Linked DNA regions of Homo sapiens: region 1 is linked to region 2. Evidence: promoter capture Hi-C in human tissues and cell types (Jung and others, 2019). All regions are on one chromosome and are shown on one strand. The core of a region is centred on a gene start or on the middle of the fragment in contact, and the rest is flanking DNA. Distances in the headings are between cores, read along the strand shown. Region 1 holds the start of SART1 (spliceosome associated factor 1, recruiter of U4/U6.U5 tri-snRNP). Region 2 holds the start of TIGD3 (tigger transposable element derived 3).

Region 1 (5,762 bases), core at 722-3,221, 610 kb before region 2:
TTCAAGACCAGCCTGGCCAAGATGGTGAAACCCCGTCTCTACTAAAAATATAAAAATTAGCCAGGCACGGTGGTGCGCACCTGTAATCCCAGATACTCGGGAGGCTGAGGTAGGAGAATTGCTTGAACCCAGGAGGCAGAGCTTGCAGTGAGCTGAGATCGTGCCACTGCACTCTAGCCTGGGCAATGGAGCAAGACTTTGTCTCAAAAAAACAAAACAAAACAAAAAAAAAACTCTTCCTTTCCTGCATTCCCATCCTGCATCCTACCTTCTCCTTTATCTTAAAGGCTTCTCTCTCCACCTGGGCCATGGATCCCAACCTCTCCAGGCTCCCCAAGGTCACCAGCCTCCTCGTTTCTAAATCTAGTGGGTTCTTTTCGGTTCTGGTTTTGCTTGATCTCCTGTGGTATGTGGGACTGCTGATCGCTCCCTCCTTCTAACAATACTCTCTTCCCAAAGTTCCCATGACACAAAGGTTTTCCTGCCTTTTTGGTTACTCTGTCTCCTTTTTTTGGTAACATCTTTCTCTGCCTACTACTAACATAAGGGCATTTCTCAGGTTCTAGTCCTGACCCCCTCTTCTCATGTCACAGTCTTTCAGGGGCTTCACTGGCCACCCAGATACTGACTCCCAATGGCTTTATCCAGTCCAAACTCTGGATTTCCCCATTACCATCAACCTTGACAACCCCAAAAGTGAACTATCTCCCCCCACCCCCGCTCCAAATCTGCTTCTCTTCCCTACTCCTCAATTTCAGTAGAAATGACACCCACTACCTATCTGGCTGCTCAAGCCAAAATTCAAGGAGTCATCCTCCATTCCTTCTTCCCACCCTCATACAAGTGCTGAGTTCTGTTCATTCCTCCTCCAAAACACCTCTCCAACCTGTCCACTTCTCTCAATCCCACTGCTGCTGCCTTGGTGCAGGCCACCATCAGCCCTCCCCTGGCCTATAGCCCTCCTGGTTTCCTGGTCTCCAGTCCTGACTACCTTTGACTAAATTCTCAATCCAGTGATGTTTACAAAATACGGATCTGAGCAACTCACTCCTCAACTCACATCCATGGCTCCCTACTATCCTCAAGACAATCTACAGTTCTTAACAGAGACTACAGTACAGGGTCCTTTGTGTTCACATCCCTGTCTATCTTACTCCCTCATTTCTCTACCATGCGCCCTACACGATTCGTCCAATACCAGGTTTTTCTTGCCTCTGTATATGCTGACACTACTTCATTCACTCATTCAACATATTTATTGAGAATCTGATTGTACCAGACAACTGAGGAAAACAGAAGCCCTCTGTCCTCAAGCAGCTGAGTGGAGAAAGTCAACCTCTAATCCTAAACAACCGTAGAAAGACTTTTTTCTTTTTGAGACAGAGTCTCGCTTTGTTGCCCAGGCTGGAGTACACTGGCGGGACCGCAGCTCACTGCAGCCTCTAACTCCTGGGCTCAAGGGATCCCGTAGAAAGACTATTTAATAGAGCTGGTAAACAGCTTGGGGGTTTCCTGGCCTGAAGAGCTTCGCTGACACTGCGCGCACACCCAGACCCACGCGTTCCGGGACCCCCGCCCGACCCGCCCCCTGCGCAGGCCCCGCCTCCTCACCGGCCTCGTAGCCGTCATCGCGCTTCTCCCGCTTCACGCGCCGCTCGGAGGGCTCTGCCTGGCTGCGCTCCCGCCCGTGCGTGCTGCTCCGGGCCTCAGCTTCGGCCCCGCGCCGCCCGCTCCCGCGCTCGCCCCCACGTTCCCGGCTCCGCTTCCGTCGTTCGCCACCGCTACCGCCACTGCCGCCACTCCGGTGCTTGTGTTTTTTGTGTTCCCGGTGCCGCGGCGGCTGCTCGGTGGCACCCCCGGTGCCGGCCGCCGCCGTCGTCCCGGCCGCCTCCTTCTCTCCGCGATGCTTCTTGGACGACCCCATAGTGGCACGTCCACTCCGAGCCCGGCTGCCGCCGAGCCCAGACAACGCAAAATGGGAATACTTCCGGGTCGCTCGGCAGCCGCTGTCGTGTTGCCGGAAACTAAGAGCGGCTGCTTCCGTCGCTCGCCTTGGAGCCTGCCCCAGAGGCTCATGGGAAGGCCGGGATCAGCGCTCGACTGCACATTCGCGCCGTCTCGGGTCGGGTGGGTTCTTTGAGCGAGTGGTCCCATTGCGCATGCGCTCCTCAAGGGAAGCGGAATTAACCCGGAGGTGGGATCCCAGAACTGGAAGGACTTAGAGCCCATTAAGTCAGTGTCTTCGTGGCTTTAAGTTCCTCCCCGGCCTCCCTGCGCTTGCACTTCACCGGCAACGGGGTGTTCACTACCTCACGGTCTTTCCGTAGACACCTCCCTCCTACAATGGGCGCTCGCTTAGTGGACTCCTAGGGTCGTGGCTCCAACGGGTGTTGTTTTCCCGAGATCTCCAATTCCACAGCCCAGCTTCAGACCCGCTATAACCAGTATCGTCAGGGAACGCTTCCTTCCCACGTTCCCTGTTTTGTTTTGTTTTGTTTTTTCCCTTGAGATAGGATCTCACTCTGTTGCTCAGGCTGGAGTGCAGTGGCGTGATCACAGCGCACTGCAGCCTCGACCTCCTGGGCTCAAGTGATCCTCCCACCTCAGCCTTCCCAGTAGCTGGGACTACGAGAGTACGCTACCACGCCCCTTTAATTTTTGTATTTTTTTGTAGATGGTTGGTGGGGAGCGGGGGTAGGGGGTGGGGTCACTATGTTGGCCAGGCTGGTCTCGAACTCCTGAGCTCAGGCTATACACCCGCCTTGGCCTCCCAAAGTGCTGAGATTACAGGCATGCGCCACTGCGCCTGGCCCTGGATTGGATTTTTAAAACCTGGCCCCGTGAACTGTTAAGATTGTTTAGGAGCTCCACATGGGCGTCAGTGTATCCCTGGAACCCCTGAAATTGAATGCAAAATGTGGCACATCTGTGTGTATGAGTTTTTTTCTTGAGGAGACCAGCCCTAACTTAAAACTATTGGGACTTAAAACCCCAGTGCAGGCCGGGCGCGGTGGCTCACGCCTGTAATCCCAGCACTTTGGGAGGCCAAGGCAGGCGAATCACGAGGTCAAGAGATCGAGACCATCCTGGCCTACATGGTAAAACCCCGTCTCTACTAAAAATACAAAAATTAGCTGGGTGTGGTGGCGCACACCTGTAGTCCCAGCTACTCAGGAGGCTGAGGCAGGAGAATCGCTTGAACCTGGGAGGCAGAGGTTGCAGTGAGTTGAGATCACACCATTGCACTCCGGCCTGGTGACAGAGCGAGACTCTGTCTTAAAAAAAAAAAAAAAAAGCGCAGTGCACACAATCCCAATCTCTCCTGAAACCCCTCCCCTCACCCAGTGGTTGCTCAGTCTGTGGCTCCCTGTGTGGCACAACTCAGCATGTGTTAGGCTATGTTGTATGCGCCCCTTTAAGGATCCACCCCCTCTCCCACTCACTGGGCGTCCTCAGAGGCAGGAGTCATTTCATCTTATTCATGCTTGAATTTATAGGACCCAACATATACATTGGAGATGGGGTGGAGAAGTCACAGCTCTTGCTCTTTGAGATGTCCCCACTCCTCAGGAGCAGAGAAGGGGCTGTGTGTACTGGGTGGGGGGAACCAAAAGAGCCAAAGCTCCTGGTGGGGAGGGGGTGCGGGGACAGAGCTAAGCCTGCTGCCCACCCACCTGCCACCTCCAACTTCCAACCCGTAGCTTCCACCACCCCCACCACCAGAAATCTCATACTGTGTTTGCCATAAAGCCTTTAATTTTATCTCAGGGACTGCACTCCGGGTCCAGGCTGGGGTTGTAGTGCCTGTCAGGCTGGCTGCCGGTGGGTTCTGTCCTTGGGGGCCTCTGAGGAGAGTGCTCCATTCTCACCCCCATTGACCTGTGGCTCCTTCAAGACACAGATAGAGGCCCCTGACTCTGCAGCTCCCACCCCCATGCCCAAGGAAACCACTGACAATGTGGCTTCAAACCCTGCTTCAGTGCCGGCTTGCTGTGTGATCCTGGGCAAAGTGACTCTTCTCGAGTCTCACTTTCCTTATTGTCAAGTGGGCTTCATAATCGCTGCTCTGTACCAGGTTATTCTAAGGCATGGGGTGACCAGCGTGGTGGTGCCAGCCCCTAATGAGGGACTTGGTGTGTGGCCGCTCAGATGGTTGCAGAGTCCCAGACTGGTTCTGCTGCTTGTTCGCTCCTGCGTCCTTAAAGAAGGCCCTTCCCCTCAGGTCCTTAGTTTCCTCATTGAGAAGTAGGAATGACAACCCTGGCCTTGCCTTCCTCTGGGCTCTCTGCCTGTCCTGGGGGAGGCCCTCCAGAGCCCAGAGTGCTGGTGTGGGCGCCCCTTCCCGCAGCAGCATGGCAGAGTCAGTTCTTGACCTGACGGGGAGACTCACCTGGGTTTCCTGGGGGTGCCCTCTCTGTCCACCTTTCCTGCCTCAGACAGCAGCTGCTCCTCATCCAGCCCCAGTGCTGACAGCACCTGGGAGAAGCGCCGAGTGACGGTGAGCCGGGCATTGGCCTGAGGAGAGAGAAGACGGCTTCCTGCTCTGCACCAGGGCTGCCGAGGGCAAGGTGGGGATCGGGTTACTGAGGGGGTCCCAGGGATTCCAGAGGGCAGCAGCCCTGGGATCCTATCTGCAGGGACCTACTCGCATCCTGCTTCCCTACCCACTCAGCCAGCTCTTCACAGGGGGCAGCTATGTGCTTGCCCAGGTGCCAGCCTCACCTGCATAGCCTGCTGGAACAGGAAGGGCCGGGCCTGCACCCTGTGCTGGATGCCTTGCAGCTCCGCCTGGTACTCAGCAAAGCGCTGTCGCTCCTGGCGCCTGCAGGGGAGACAGGCCTTTGTGCAGCTAACCATGGACACAACTGTTGATCTCCATTCCTGAGCCCGCTTATCTTCACTAAGGACTTGATATTCATGTCCTCACCCTCACCTTTACAAAGCTATTTCATTCCCATTCTTGCCTGGATTCCTTGTGAAGTCAGCCAAGGTGGAAATTATTCACCCAATTTACGGATGGATCGGGAGGGTTGAGGGACTTGTTCAAAGTTGTGCAGCTGGGAAGTGAGGGGCCGAGCCCTGTGCAGCTGGGGCTTGCCCATCCTCCTGTGCCAGCCCCATGGGAAAGGGGCCAGTGCTGGCTTCTGAGCTTCCAGACACGTGCTTACATAGCTTCCCCTCCCCATCCTCTTTCCCTTGAGGGGGAGCTGTGGTTGTTGGTTGTGTGACTTTGGGTGAGGCCTCTCTCTGGGCTCTTGGCTCTGGGCTCAGTTTATTTCACTGTGCTATAGTAGGGATCGGACAAGCTTGCCAGCATTCTCTGTGGTTCTTGTAAGCAGACAGCTTGGAAAATGGGACAGAGAAACTAAAAAAAAATATGTTTCAAATTTAAAAAACACACCCCTGAGAGATCAGGGTTCCACTGGGGAAGCACAATTTTCATTTATAAAAACCCAATTTGGCCAGGCGTGGTGGCTCGCACCTGTAATCCCAGCACTTTGGAAGGCCAAGGAGGGTGGATCACTTGAGCCCAAGAGTTTGAGACCAGACTGGGCAACATGGTGAAATCCTGTCTCTACAAAAATTAGCCAGACATGGTGGTATGCACCTGTAGTCCTGGGTAGTTGGGAGGCCAAGGTGGGAGGATCGCTTGAGCCTCGGAGGTCTAGGCTACAGTGAGCTGAGATTGTGCCACTGCACTCCAGCCTGGGCAACAGAGCAAGACCCTGTCTCAAAAAACCCAAAACCCAGTTTGTGCACTT
Region 2 (5,907 bases), core at 3,309-5,808:
ACTCCTGACCTCAGGTGATCCACCCGCCTCGGCCTCTCAAAATGCTGGGATTACAGGCGTGAGCCACCGTGCCCAGACAGTATTTTTATTTTATTTTTTTATTTTTGAGACGGAGTCTCATTCTGTCACCCAGGCTGGAGTGCAGTGGTGCGATCTCCGCTCACTGCAACCTCCGCCTCGTGGGTTCAAGCGATTCTACTGCCTCAGTCTTCCAAGTAGCTGGGATTACAGGTGTGTGCCACCACGCCTGGTTAATTTTTGTATTTTTAGTAGAGACAGAGTTTCATCATGTTGGCCAGGCTGCTCTTGAACTCCTGACCTAAAGTGATCCACCAGCCTCGGCCTCCCAAAGTGCTGGGATTACAGGCATGAGCCACTGTGCCCGGCCTGCAGCTTGTATTTTTACCAGCTAGAGTCTATCTGCGTCCAAAGCCCATATCCTTTCCAGGTAAAACCATTTTCTTTTCTTTTCTTTTTTTTTTTTTTTTGAGTGAGTTTCACTCTTGTTGCCCAAGCTGGAGTGCAGTGGCACCATCCTGGCTCACTGCAACCTCCACCTCCCGGGTTCAAGCGATTCTCCTGCCTCAGCCTCCTGAGAAGCTGGAATTACAGGCATGTGCCACCACGCCCGGCTAGTTTTTATATTTTTAGTAGAAATGGGGTTTCACCATGTTGGCCAGGCAGGTCTTATAAACTCTTGACCTCAGGTCATCCACCCACCTCGGCCTCCCAAAGTGCTGGGATTACAGGCGTGAGCCACCGCGCCCTGCTGGTAAACCATTTTCTTTACATCCTACTCCCAGGATCTGGCTCACGCTTCACCTTCTCTCACCTGGATCAGTCAGAGGCTCTCTGCCTCTAGGTTTCACATCTTTGACACACCCTACACAGACTCCGTTATTCTAGAACCCCAAGAATGACTTGTTCCTGCCTACCTAAAACCCTCTGATGGTGTCCTACCCCTAAGCCTGGTTGGCTAAAGGCCCTTCCTACTCTCCAGGTCTCTCCTTGTACTCTGCCCCTACCTCCGCAAGTATGCTATGCTCTGGCAGAACTGCCTGCCCCCGCCCCCAGCACACTGTGCTCCTTCACTCCAATCAGACTCTGCACACGCTGTCCCTTGGCCTGGGACGCCCTTCAAACTGCAGCTCAAAGCTCACCTCCCCCTGGAGTCTCCCTAGCTCTATGGGGCCAGGCACTTTGCACAGCCGTTATCACAGCCTTAATCACACTCCACTGTCATTGGCTGCAAGGTTCTGTCCAGAAGAGACATCATCTTTGCAACCTTGTTCACATAGGAGGTCTTGCTGAAGTGATGTTGTGAAATAAGCAAATGAAAAAAAAAAAAGAAAGAATGAATGACTATTCCATTCCAATTCCGGCTCCTTTCTGTTTCCCTGACATGTCCGTAGCCTGCCCAACCCCAAACACACACAATCTGAGAGCGAAACTATTGGAGCTGCAGCTTATCTGGGGCAGTAGCTGGGATCTGTCTGTCCTGGAGCTTCCCTCTCAGGAGGGTAGCCCACAAGCAGTGCCCACACCCTGAGAGTCCTTGCTGCTGAATATCTGGAAAAGGAGGATCCCTACTGGTCATGGACAGACAGCTGCACCGCAGTGACCATCAGCAATTAATTTTCCAAATCTGAATGGAAAATGTTTACCCTTCTCCCATGAAAATAACACCCTGGCCTCTTTTCTGATTAAAAACTTTATTTTCAGAAGCAGAACTGTTTTTAACACAAAGTTCAAGGAAGCAGTCTGTCCAAAAAGCCCAAATTCCACCTTTCTAAGTGGCTGCCTCTAGACTAACTCCCTTTCAAAGGCTCTAGAACTTTCAAGCAGGGTCTAGAAACTAAGCATCCTGGATTCCTACCCCCGAAGCCCCATCTTTAGAGCTCTCTTCCTGGGGTTTGGACGACTGCCACTCCAAGCTCAGACTTGGTGTCCCAACTTCTCTCCCTTCTACACCTTTACGACAGTTCTATTTCCACAGGAAAGAGACAGCCCGATCTGCCTTCTGAAGAGGCCGTTTCCATGGGAAACAAGAGAGGAAGGGGCTCTGGCAAGCAGTGAAGGCGCCTTCATAGGCAGCAAAGCCGCTCCACCTCCTCCTCACAGTCGTAGAATTTTTCGAATAGCTCAGGAGAAGTGCTGTTGCATTCAAACCACCTCCTCAAGGTGCCCAGGGCCCGGAGGGCATCAGCTTTGGTGGGCAGGGGCTCAAAGGCACCCTCTCTGTCCCCCTTCTCGTCTTCAGTGCCTATCTCCTCCTTACATACTCCAGACCTTGGCTCCTCACCCTCCAGGTCCACAAAGCGGGAAAACTCCTCCAGGCTCAGCCCGCCGGGGACTGGTGGCATCTCAGAGGTTTTGTGCGAGGACGGGGGCGTTTTGCCGGGAGCCAGCCCTTCTTGAATGAAGCTGCTGAAAATGAGCTGAGGAGGCACCTTGGCCCAGGCGGCAGACGCCACGTGCAGGGCGTCCAGCACGGTGATGCCTGCCCCGGCCTCGGCCAGCGAGGTGCCATCCCTCTCGCTTTGGATGGCAGCCAGTTTGCCCAACAGCCGGTGTCGGTAATGGGCCTTAAAGGCCCGGACCACTGAGCTGGGCAGGGGAGGCGTGGTGCTAGAGGCGGCCAGAGGCAAGAGCTTCACGTGGTAGAGCCCAGGCAGGCCTGCCAGCTCCTCCACCACTCGGGCAGCCAGCAGCAAAGCCACCTGTCGGCCCTGCTGTCCCATGTCCCGGTCAAACTGTGCCAACCACTCTAACCAGGGGATGCCCAGGTCCGGGTGGTAGGAGGCAGGCAGAGCCTCACTGCGGATCCCAAAGAAGCATCTCGGGGCAGCCTGGAGCCCACCCAGCAGTACCCGCCGCTTCTCGGTGCCCCTGCTGTTGGCACACAGCAGCACCTGTACTTGATCACATGCACCAAAGCTGCCGGGCACTGCCCGATACAGCAAGGGCAATTCAGCACAGCCAAACACGTCCTCTGGAGAGAAGTCTTTTAGGGAAAGAGGCAGCTGAGCCTGGGATGTGAGCCCCGGGGGAGGTGGCTCAGGGGGGAATGAAGGCGCAAGAACATGGCGGGCCCCAAAGCCGACGTTGTTTCGGCGTTTCCAGCGGACCAGCCAGCCGATGCTGGGCACGAAGTCCTGGCCCATGATATCGGCCAGCTCCTTGGCTTTGTGGAGCAGCATGGGCCCCGTCACGTCCCAGGCCTTGGCCCGGGCAATGTGGTACCAGCAGAGCAGAGCCTCGTCGATCCCGCTGTACTTGGACTCCCGCTTGCGCTTGCGCTCTCGGTTGGCTGTGCCGCTGCACCAGTCCGCCAGCAGCTTCTCCTTATTCTTGCAGATGCGCGAGATCTGGGGCTGGGAAACCTGGAAGCGCCGGGCCACCTCCGACTGGGACATCTTGGACTCATCCAGGAGTTCCAGCACCTGGATCTTCTCGGCCAGGGACAGGGCGTGAAGCTTCTTCTTGCTGCTCAGCTCCATGGCCTCTCCGGGGCACCTGTGCGGGGAGGAAAGATTGAGCGGGTAGAGTAATCTGAGGCCGGAAGAGCTAGGAAAGGAGCGCAGGAGGGAAAAGAGATTAGATGAGGACTTGCGCAGGCACCGGGTGAGACTGGACCCGCTGAAAGAGGAAGTGGCTAGGCCGAGTGGAAGCCGGCTGGCCCCGTCCCCAGGATGCCAGGGCAGAGCTGGGGAGGGGGCGTCTCTCCACTCAGAAGGACAGGGGAGTCTGGGCTGGGGTCTGGCCTCACTCGGGAAGAAGGATGAAAAGTGCAGGGGACAGCTGCAGAGATAACAAAGGCATACGGACGGGGGAGGGCCTGGGACTGGGGCCGAGGGGGCAGGTGTGGGGCTACGGGGCTGCGGGGGAGGAGCCCCCGGGAGGGAGTGGGAGGCGGCTTGGGCTGGATTCAGATGACGCCGCTGGGGGGTGGGAGGTGGGTGGATGCACACAGAGTTGAGGTGACAGGTGTACAGACGACAAAGGGGACAGAGGGTGTCTGAAGGAGCGAGGCTAATTTGGTGCCGGGTCCTGAGAGGGAGGCTAGGCGACGGTCAGTCCTGAGGGGAGCGAGAGGGCAGGGCCGAGGGCGCAGGTGCACGAGCGACAAAGGGCGGGAGGCCTGAGGAGGCTGCGGGCAGCGGAGGGGCGGGGTGTCCCCGCGGGGAGGGTGGTGGCCTGGGAGGGTCCCAGGGCGCGGGAACGAACGCCCGGACCCAGGCAGGCCGGCAGCCGGACTCCGTGCCCTGGCCGGTCACTCCCCCTCGACCCGGAGTATGTCGGCGGGGCGGCCCCAGGCGCCCGCCCGCCCGGCCTCCCGCTCCGCACCCACCTCAGGCGCTGGTCCCGCGGCTCCAGCCCCTGCCCCCAGCCCGGCTCCCGAGCCCCTGTCCGGGCGGCGACAGCAGAACAGGGGAGGGATGGGCGCCACGACCCCGAGGGCAGAGCGGACCGAGGGCCTGCGCGGACGGCGGGCGGGCGGGCGCGCGCACAGCAGAGTCCCGTGCGCGCCGCCCGCGCCGGGCTCTCTCCCGGCTGCGAAGTCCGCGGTGCGGCCCCTCTGCACCCACCCGCCGCAGCCCCGCCCCGGCCCAAGCAGATTGGTCCTCAGTGGCGCCCCGTCCCTCCCCCGGCTAAGTTTCATTGGACGTTGCGGAAGTGGCGGTTCGTCGAGCCCCTCTGGGGGCGGGGCTTCTAGCGCGGAGGGGCGGGAGGCGGAGCCAGGAACCAGCAGGACTCCCCTGGGCGCCTCCAGCAGCCGCCGACCCCGAGGGCCCGACGAGCCCTGTAGGTGGTGTGGTGACCGCCGAGCTGACTTGGCGTCCCAAAGCCTCCCTGGCCGTGACCCTAGACCGCATCGGCTTCTTCGTCTACCAAGCAGGGCTAACAGCCCTCACGGAATTGTTTTGGGAAAACGATGAAAGGAGAAAATGGATGCAAGCTTTAAGCCACACAAAAGCTGGTTACCATGGACAGCGCTGGCTCGAGTCTGTCGGCCACGGAAACACTGCATGCTTGGGCCAGTAATGATTTAGGACGAGTATTTTATTAGATTTGGTACTTTACAAGATTCAAGTTCTTAAACTCAAGATCTGGCATCGTTCCCTTCCCTGCTAACCTTCAGTCCCGAATTAAACGCAGACGTCTTGACCCGCAGCCCAGCTGCTCTCCAGCCTCGCTGCTCCCTCCGCTCACAGCTCCGCATCCTCTGCCTTCCTCACAGGCTTCCGTCCGCACCCCCGTCCTACCGGCTGACACTGTCCAACTCTCCAAGACCCATCTCAAATCCTACCTCCCGCAAACCCTTCCTAAATTTCCTCACCTAGGCCTGCTACAGCGTTCTTATTTTCCACATTTCTTTTCTGGCTCTCGGACTACTCAGCTGCCAAAGCGCATCCATTGCTGTACTCCCTCTCTGCCTGGCCTACTTCAGTGGAAAAGCATGAGGACGGGCTGCGCTCTGCTCCTCACACAATCCCCAGCCCAGAGCACCCTGCTTATTTATTGAACATAACAGTGCAGGCCGGCCTAGGCTTCCCATAGGCAAGGATGACTTTCAGAATGTTCTAGAAAAAAGGATACTTCAGGGGGCCCATAACTGCTTGATTCAAATCTTTCCTTTAAAAACATAAAAACAACAGTTGGACTTCTAAAACACACACTGAAGACATACGCGCTGCCACGTAAGCTCTCCACATGTTCACTTTGCCTTCAGGGAAACTGTGTGCACATCAACGTGCCCTGGGAAAGGCTGCAGGGCTGCACTGCGGGCAGTTCAGATCCTAGAGCACTTGCTCTGGCCTGGGAGCGCTGCAGGCAACTGAAGCCACACAGACCCTGCTCCTGCAAGAACTTTTGTGTGTGTCCCATGGTGATGTCATTAGTTTG

What was found. The method cuts DNA at HindIII sites, captures the fragments that hold promoters and counts their contacts. A contact is called where the count stands out against the background at its distance.
Region 1: the fragment with the promoter of SART1 here is called in contact with the fragment with the promoter of TIGD3 in region 2 in 1 of the 25 tissues and cell types used here (spleen).

What each region holds. Positions count from the first base shown.
Region 1 is chr11:65,957,943-65,963,704 of GRCh38, reverse strand. It overlaps SART1 (spliceosome associated factor 1, recruiter of U4/U6.U5 tri-snRNP), which reads right to left and starts at 1,971. Exons shown (of 20, transcript NM_005146.5): 1 at 1,612-1,971. The coding sequence starts at 1,924. It overlaps TSGA10IP (testis specific 10 interacting protein), which reads right to left. Exons shown (of 8, transcript NM_152762.3): 6 at 4,723-4,822; 7 at 4,391-4,515; 8 at 3,739-3,888. The coding sequence ends at 3,765. RefSeq lists an enhancer at 1,326-2,113. The HindIII fragment of the contact is 22,503 bases long and covers 1-5,762 here.
Region 2 is chr11:65,353,402-65,359,308 of GRCh38, reverse strand. It overlaps TIGD3 (tigger transposable element derived 3), which reads right to left and starts at 4,558. Exons shown (of 2, transcript NM_145719.3): 1 at 4,352-4,558; 2 at 1,696-3,516. The coding sequence starts at 3,500. The coding sequence ends at 2,085. DPF2 (double PHD fingers 2) reads right to left here. Exons shown (of 11, transcript NM_006268.5): 11 at 5,047-5,907. RefSeq lists silencers at 3,851-4,040, 4,101-4,270, 4,281-4,340, 4,361-4,680, 4,771-4,830. The HindIII fragment of the contact is 4,951 bases long and covers 1,321-5,907 here.